Linked DNA regions of Homo sapiens: region 2 is linked to region 1. Evidence: promoter capture Hi-C in 16 types of primary human blood cells and fetal thymus (Javierre and others, 2016). All regions are on one chromosome and are shown on one strand. The core of a region is centred on a gene start or on the middle of the fragment in contact, and the rest is flanking DNA. Distances in the headings are between cores, read along the strand shown. Region 1 holds the start of POU4F1 (POU class 4 homeobox 1). Region 2 has its middle 210 kb from the start of RBM26.

Evidence for each region. The method cuts DNA at HindIII sites, captures the fragments that hold promoters and counts their contacts. A CHiCAGO score of 5 or more calls a contact.
Region 2: a contact is called between a fragment that was not itself captured here and the fragment with the promoter of POU4F1 in region 1, in 1 of 17 cell types (total B cells). The highest score is 5.8, in total B cells.

What each region holds. Positions count from the first base shown.
Region 1 is chr13:78,602,195-78,606,514 of GRCh38, forward strand. POU4F1 (POU class 4 homeobox 1) reads right to left here and starts at 1,358. Exons shown (of 2, transcript NM_006237.4): 1 at 1,010-1,358; 2 at 1-357. The coding sequence starts at 1,132. It overlaps OBI1-AS1 (OBI1 antisense RNA 1), which reads left to right. Exons shown (of 6, transcript NR_047001.1): 4 at 3,107-3,250. RefSeq lists a silencer at 1,149-1,308. The HindIII fragment of the contact is 4,390 bases long and covers 1-2,557 here.
Region 2 is chr13:79,194,350-79,198,600 of GRCh38, forward strand. No RefSeq gene overlaps it. Among named protein-coding and RNA genes, the nearest start is that of RBM26, 210 kb to the right of the region's middle. RefSeq lists enhancers at 89-308, 569-688, 3,562-4,193. The HindIII fragment of the contact is 7,662 bases long and covers 1-4,251 here.

The DNA of each region.
Region 1 (4,320 bases), core at 108-2,607:
GCCCGGGCCGCCGCCGCCGCCCGGGCCGCCACCGCCCCCCGGGCCGTCGTGGGCGCCGCCGCCGCCGGCCGCCGCGCCCGCGCCGCCCGCGCCGGCCATGAGCGCGAGCGACGGCGAGGAGATGTGGTCCAGCAGATCGCCGGGTTCGAGCGCCTGGTGGTGGTGGTGGTGGTGGTGGTGGTGCGCCAGAGGCACCGTGGAAGTGGACGTGCACGGCACGCTGTTCATCGTGTGGTACGTGGCGTCCGGCTTGAAAGGATGGCTCTTGCCCTGGGACACGGCGATGTCCACGGCCGCCAGCGCCTCGGCCCGCGCCAGCAGCGTCTCGTCCAGGCTGGCGAAGAGGTTGCTCTGCAGCTGCAGGCGACACAAACCAAACCAAAAAAACCACAAAACCAAAAGAGCAAAACAAAACAACAGAAGAAACACACACACAGGCCGGAAAGCACAGCATGCGAAGGGCAAACACAAAGCAACCAAAATAACAACGGGTTTGGGGGCAGTGGAGAGCGGGAAAGACGGAGAGGGGGCACATTGACGACCAGGGAGGGGGCAGACGAGAAGGGATGGGAGCGTGGAGAGGGGGACAGAAGTAGGGAGAAAGGGGGACACAAGAACACATTCCGGAAACGGGCGTGGGAGACGAAAAAGAGGGAAAAGAAGAAATGGAAATGTAACTCGCAGCTGGGGACCCGTGTCACACACCCGAGCACGCACAGAGACTGCCTTTCTGAGGCGTGAAATTAACAGAGAAAGTAGAGGGAAGTCGAGAGTCCTGGCCCCAGCGCTCCCTACTCCGATCGCAGGCGCCTGACGCGGAGGCAGAGGCAGACAGGAACACGACATTAAGGGCCGCCGGACAAAACGTGCCTCGCTGCGGGACTGCTCTACACCCCCTGCCCGCAGTTCCCCGCACCGGGACCTGCACACACCAGCCCCCGACATGCAGCGTTTCGGAGACGGGGAGGGGCGGGCGCGCGGGCCGGGGCCGCGGGCGTGGGGCGCTTACCGGCGGCGTGGGCAGGCAGGCCCGCCGGATGGCCTCGGAGCTGGAGTGCAGCGACGGGTACTTGTGCTCAGGGAGGGTGGGATGCATGGCAAAGTGAGGCTGCTTGCTGTTCATGGACATCATCGTGGCGGCTTGGCATGTATATCCACAAACACTCCGAAAGTCCGCGGGAAAGTGCGTACGCCGGCTCACCCGGCCTCCCTTCGGAGGCTGCAGCCGCGGCGGTCGCGGCGGCTGGCGGCGGCCCCGCCGCGGGCTGCTGCTGCTGCTCCTGCTGCTGCCAGGCGCTCCCTCTGACCGCGCAGAGCGCCGCGCGCCGGCCTCGCGGTCCCGCTTCTCCGACAGCTCTAGCCCCGCGCGCCGACGGGATGCACTCCTCTAACACCTGAGCCCCACTTCTCGCGGCCGTCCCGGGGAGCTCTCGCGAGAGCTCGCGGCCCCACCGCGCTGACAGGCATCAGCTGTCTCCGTCTGTCTGACGCGCGCTCTCCTTCTCGGCGGCCCCGTGCGTCTGCGCGCGCGCGCGCTCGTCCGGCCGCGACCAGCGCGTGGGAGCCGCTCTTATAGTGACCACCAGCAAGGACAGCGCAGGTGATGCACCTGTAGCTACCCGGGCATGCGCACTGCCCGCCTCACCTTTCCCACCGTGGTCTGGAAAGATCAGAAGGTCCAGCTATTGTCTAAGGGTGGGCACCTTTTAGAATAAAAAAGACGAGATGCGCGCACGCCCCTCTATGTGTGTGTGTGTGTGTGTGTGTGCGTGCGTGTGTGTGTATGTGTGTATGTTTCTTCTCCCTGATAGCAAGCCTTGAATATATGAGCATTACTTAGGCATTCCTCCTCTTCGGGATGCCTAACAAGCTGTTGTATAATGTATACAGCTGGACATTTCTACGTTAAATTATGCCCGCGCATTCCTCTGTATACAGTATAAATAACAACACAGAAATGCAGAAGGTGCTGTCTTTTGCTGCAAGAACCTGTTTCTTTAAAGGTTTATAAATAGGTTCCTGGAGAATAATCGCGGTGACAGACATTTGTTTGAAGCAGTCAGACGCTATTGATTTCCATATAATTTAATTTCCTCCGCATACTTTTTTGTTGTTGTTGTGAATATAACTGTGTCAGGCACCGCCAGTGACAGCCACTTAGGAGCCACAAGGAGCGTGTGCTTTCTACTCGGGAAAAGCTGTTGAAATGAAATTGTGCATTTCTCTTATTGTTTGTCTCCTTCAACCGTGTACAAACCCACGTTTCAAACGAGCTCCGGGTGATCTAAGGCTTCTAGTAATCAAAAGGAAAAAACAGTTAACAGGGTGTAGTTGGGATCCTTCCTCCCCTCAGCGTACACACACACACACACACACACACACACACACACACACTTTATGCTGGGAACTCCAGGAAAACTGCTTCAGAGAAAAGGGAATAAGATGTTGAAAAGAGAACTTTCTTTTCCCTTCCATCTTTTTGGCTTTTTGCCTCATATCTCTGCCTGCTTATATATATTTTTTTCAATAGGAGACAGATCAAACTAACTTACAGGAAAGCTTGATTCAAAAATATTAAATCAAGCCAATTTGAAAGAACGGGGACAAGCTCTGGTCCAGTTTTTAAATTTTTAAAAAATTATTGTGAAATTAAGACCTAAAAAGAATAAATCAATTAGCCAACCTGTTATATGGCCCTTATGTGGTAGCAGATCAAGAGCCTCCCAGGGGAGCCACAGTTCAGGTGCCAAAGTCCCCAGGGAAGGAGCACTTGCTCGCGGTGATAATAACCTAACAGCCCAGATGTTATCACATCTGCGGTAAGAGAGCTGGAGAGCAGCAAGGGGCTGCTTATGGAAAGCAGAAATCAGATAATCTTTCTGTTCTCTCCCACACCAAGGAAGTCTGTATTTCCACCAAAGAGCAGATCTCATTTCTATAAACCTAAATTTGCGTTCCCGTGGATTTTATCTTTCCTCTGCACAAATGCATGTGTGTTTAGCATACCCACTCACCTACTCAGATTCCAAGAAGAGCCCACAGGCGTCACCATGGCTTTTTCTTTCTTTCTTTTCATGTTCCCCCCCACCCCCTCCCTTCCTTCTAGCTCCAGAGGGAAGTGAGAAGGATGTTCACTTGCTGGTGAGAGAAGGAGCTGGTTCCATCCATTACGCAGTCCCCTGGGAGCGCTAAATGCAACTTTATCTCAACGGGGAGTGGACGATGAGCAGGACGTCGCTAGAGGGAAAGAGTGAGTCCTACGGTAGTCATCACACCGGGAGTCCGGGCTTAACCTAGTCCTTCCTGACACCCCTGGTGGCCGTTCCCTGCGCTCTCTCTTGACGGGAAAGAAAAGGCCCCCACAGAGGGTGAGGGCCTGGAACCTGCCCCTCCCCTCTCAAGGAAGCGCTGGTCTTTAGGGACCCTGAAGGGTACAGGAGCAACAGAAAGGTAAACAGTACAGGTTTGCGGCCGGGTGGGGCCTCTGAGAGCCAGGTGAGCTCCTGAGTACCCAAAAGGCACCTCGGTTCACCCTCCAACCCTGGGAGGCTTCCATTAAACCCAGCGGAGAGATGCCACCTTAGCCTGAAGTTAGGAGTTAGTCCCACCAAGATTTCCTTCCCTGTTCACCTCTCTTTCGACAACAGGAATACCCCACCTTGGGGTGAGGCCAGATCTTTGCTTGGGGTATTGGGTGTTTTGATGGGACCAGAAACATGAGGGCTATGGGTACAATCCTCCCTCCCCCTCCCACCATGGATAGGAAGCCCATCTAGGATACATCCATCTTCACTATAGCACTTAGTGCAGAGTTTGTCACAGGAAAAGTACCCCACCAAAAAACACGTGTGTAGGAAGGAAGAGAGGCCAGTTTCGGGTAGCCTGGGGGAGGGGTGGTGGCCTAGGGGCTGTTCAACAATCCAGGGCTGGTTGGAGATTGCAGGAAGATCCCTGGGTGGGGGGATGGGGGGGTCTACATTCTCCTTAAAAAGGAGGGGTGTGTTTTCCCCAGGCAGAGCTGTAAATTTTTATTCCAGCCTGTTCTTTTTCAGGAGCCAATTATTTCACTCCGCCCTCATTAACTTGCTACCTTATCTTCCTTCCTCAAATTCTTGCTGAGCGGTAGTCTGGCCCAGTACAAGACACTGGAGATAAAATGAGGTATACAATATGAGTACCTGCCCTGCAGGAGGTGACAGTGTATGTGCGTGGGGAAGCCACGGATAAAAGGCATCTATGACACAGGTATAACAGGTGTGATGAGAGGGATGTGTATAGAAATATGGAGCGGGTGATGCTTGGACAGTTATCATGCCTCAT
Region 2 (4,251 bases), core at 402-2,901, 590 kb after region 1:
AGCATCCTCAAATGTGCTGTGTTATCTTAAGAGAAAAAAAAAGATACAGAAAAGATGGAGGTTATGGATCAGACATAGGCATCACCAAAAAAGCAGTTTCACTTCTGGGTAATTTGGGGCAGCCAGTCTAACCACAGAACATCCGCAGTGCTATTTAAAGAACTAGAGAGATGTCACACTCATTATGACACCTGCAATCATTAAATCTGAAAATGACTTTAGCTAACTTCTCATGAGTGCCTCGCTCAGGACACCTTCCTTGTGTGTATTTAAGATCTAGAGTAGGAAGAGTCAATTGAGTTTCTCTTATCTTAAAGTAAAAGACAAACATCAGAAGGTCTCTGCTTTTATTTGCAAGAAATACAATTCTCCTATAATATATACTAGAGTTGACCCTGGAATAGATTGTTCTGTCATTTTCCTCATTTCTTCCTTTTCCTCACTTATAGCAGAAAAGTCTTACCCATTCCCCCACTCTAAGTGTCCCCTCTGAGCTGAGAAACTTGATGATCTTGTCACAGGTAAACAGGCAAAAGAACATCCCTGCACTTTCCACTGTCCTAGGCATGCGGCTGAATGCAGGGCTCTGCAGAGAGGAACCATCTCCACGCTGTTGTGCCTGTAGTATTGGGGCACCAGGTCCTCCACCTACATGATGAGAATAGTCTTTATAACTAATAATCCTTATATCAGAATAATTAGACAAACCTTATATTCTGAGGGGTACTGTCATTCTCTTAACCTAATTCCTGGAATCCAGTCCCTTATCTGTCTTAATCAAATTTTCTAAAAGTTCCTTCTCACTTCCATTGACTTAATGACTATTGTAGCTTTAGCTTCCTTTTGCATCCAAGACCACAGACTTCCACAAGTCTGCTTGATTTTCTTTTCCAAACACAAGGAGTCATTTTACTCATTGATTGCTATCAACCTATGACTCCTGATAGGCCTTATCATGTTTTAAAACCCTCATCCAAATTCCAATAGCTCTGTTTTCTGGAACCTGAACTGCCCTTCCACCCCCAGCCACCCAAATCTCTCCTATTTCTGATTCCCTGAGAGAATGTTTTCCCTCTCTCATCCATTCCATGAAGCAACACATTCTTTCATGGATTTACTGGAATTCGAGGGAACTGCCATTGCAGGTAAATCTTTCACATTCTTATGATGAATTCAGAACTCCAAAGTAGCAAAAGTAACATGATGAAGTCCAGATTAAAGTATTTTGTTCATCATTCAGATGGATTTTCACAGCCAGCTTGTATGTAATGATTAAAGTTGTAACCAGGAGCAGACTCCAGGCCATTTCTTGCTTTGCCTGGGAAACCTATTTAATGTAACAACTTCAGATCACTCTGTCCCTTGAGGCTTCTCTCCCACACCTATTAAAGAACACCACCAATAGAGATAGCTACCTAGATGACAACTGTAAAAAAGAGGAAATTTTGTCAAAGACAACCCCTATCATGGAGCTAAAATAATCAAGACTCTATCTAATGTCAAGCAACTTCCTTCTTAATATATACTTTTAGCTCCTGTACATATGTATTTATTTTTACTGCAAAATGTGAGATTACCATGTGCCTACCATATTCTAGGCACTGGGGATAACTGTGTACTGCTAGGCAGGAGGCCTGCCCTTAAGGAGCTGACCTTTCCCTGGCTGCTTGATTCTTTTTCTTCTTTATCTTTTTTATTGGCCATATCAGAAGCAGCTGTGAAACCAATTCATGCTTGTCTCTACTCTGCACTAACTTCTTCATTCATTTATTTAGTCTCTTCCTCATATCAGTGCTTCTAGATGAAACATTTTTTCTCTCCTAATATGCTTTTCCAAAATAAATTACTCATTTTGAGGTGCTTTTAGCACTATGAAAGACACTTTAGTGGCCCTCCTTAAAGCTGTCAACATGCACCCACATAGCCAAAGGTATCCTGTTGGAGTTGAACTGTACTATCCACAACCCAATATAACATGAGATAGTTGGGTTTCAAATGGTTTTGTAAGGTTGCCTTTCATTGGCGGGTGGTAATTCATCTTCCAATCAGGCCATCATCAACAAAAACACTTTGTGAGTAGAATACAATAACTCTTCTTTATACACTCCTGAGGTTATCTGAGTAAAATTTCTCATACCAAGCAACATTTCCTCAGTCTTTGAGCTTGCTCACCTTACCCTACTCTTATCTTCCCCAATCTCAGTCAGTGTGATATAGAAATAGAAACTCATTTTAGTACCCTCCTCGAGAGGCTGCTGTGTATGCCACCACTTTGTCTTTCAAACACTGATATGGATTGGCTGTGTCCCCACGCAAATCTCATCTTGAATTGTAGTTCCCATAATCCCCTTGTGCCATGGGAGGGACCTTGTGGGAGGTAATTGAATCATGGGGGTGGTTACCCTCATGCTGCTTTCATGACAGTGAATAAGTCTCACAAGATCTGATGGCTTTATAAAGGAAAATTCCCTGCACAAGCTCTATTGCTTGCCACCATGTAAGACGTGGCATTGCTCCTCATTTGCCTTCTGTCATGATTGTGAGGCCTCCCCAGCCATGTGGAACTGTGAGTCAATTAAACCTCTTTCCTTTATAAATTGCCTAGTCTCGGATATGTCTCTATTAGCAGCATGAGAACTGACTAATACAAACACACACACAACACATAGTGTTACTCAGAGTGCTTCTGTTATGCACATGGCTACTAAAAAGTCAAATTAACATTTAAGGAAATCACTCCCATCTATTGCGTCAAAACTGACTGAGCCAAAGGCAAACCCATGGAAGAATCAGAAATCAGTGTATCCTGAACTAACTTGAAAATCCTTACTCTAGACTGCAAATCAAATTTCCAGCTGATTTTTAGTGATGAACACTGCAGGTACACTTTTTGGGTAGCTTATGGACAATAAAATACCAATACGTAGTTCTCTTCTGGTCCATATAGATCAAAGCAAAGCCATTTACAAAAGATTTTCCTGCTTCATAATCCCCATGAAGTTGAAATTCACCTCTCTCAGACTTAATATTGTTTCTTTCTTCCCACAGTAAAGACCCGCCGCCTGTGAGATGACCCAGGCAGAAGTTCAACACTTTGGTACTTCGTGCCTCAGGCCTTTCACTAAGAAAATTGAGTGTGAGAACTTTATCTCCAAAAGTGTCTGCCTGTTGTGACATCTCTCCTGGGTCTCTGCAACCCTAAATTCTTCATTTCTTTTCAGAATTTAGCTGAAAAGCACTTTTTGCTGCCTGTTTATCTCAATGTCTGTCTCTCACTGCTAGTATTTATTGCTTATCACTGTAAGTCTTCATTGAATGTAATCTGTTTGGGGATACAGTTGGCATGAAAAATGCTTCACCAAATGAAGTTGTAAAGTATTATACATAAATACTTAATTCCTGGATTTATTTATTATCATCATTACTTATTTACCACCATAGGCATCCAGGACACCTTTGAAAGAAATAAATCTGGTGGGTTGCTCTCCCAAATTTTATCAGAATATCTTATAAGATATAAATTAATGTCATTATGTAATAAGTATTAAAATTCCTTATATGGCTAGTACACATTTTAGTTTATGAAAACTTGTACATATCTAATCTTCCCAGCCTTCCAATGGTGAAAATGATTGAGTCTCCAGGTTACAGGTCAAGAAACTGAGACTCAGAAAGTTTGAGTGATATTCCCAAGGTCACGTGAATAACGAATTTCAGAGCTGGGCTCAAACCCAGGTATCCTCCTCCAGGTCCTAAGCCCTTCTCTCTCCCACAGCTGCCTACAGGATCAGCAGGATGAAAGTAAACCCAGCAAGGGCCAAATGAGAAACAAAACAGGATCCATTGTCTCCTTTCTCTGCTTTGTGAAGCCTTCATGACAGGGTACAGTTTGGTATACACTGAATTTACATTTTATATTGGTGAAATTAACATGACTTTGTATTTAATTCAGGGTCATTGAACCCTAAGTTTACATTTGAGGTCCCCATACTGAATTTCTATTTGCAATAGTAGGCAAGCTAGAAAAGGCCACTGTAATTAGCCCTAATTAATACACTAGTTAGTACAATTAATGAGTTCTTTTCTCTATGTGCCCAAGAAATACTGGAGATACCTGAGCTACAATTAGGCCATTTAGTGGAAAGAGTCCTGTGCCAGCAAAGGGAGACACAGATCCATGTGGAGCAAAGAAAGGTGATGTTTGTTCATATGAGTGGAGTCTGTGACCTTTATTACTTTTAGATTATTAGA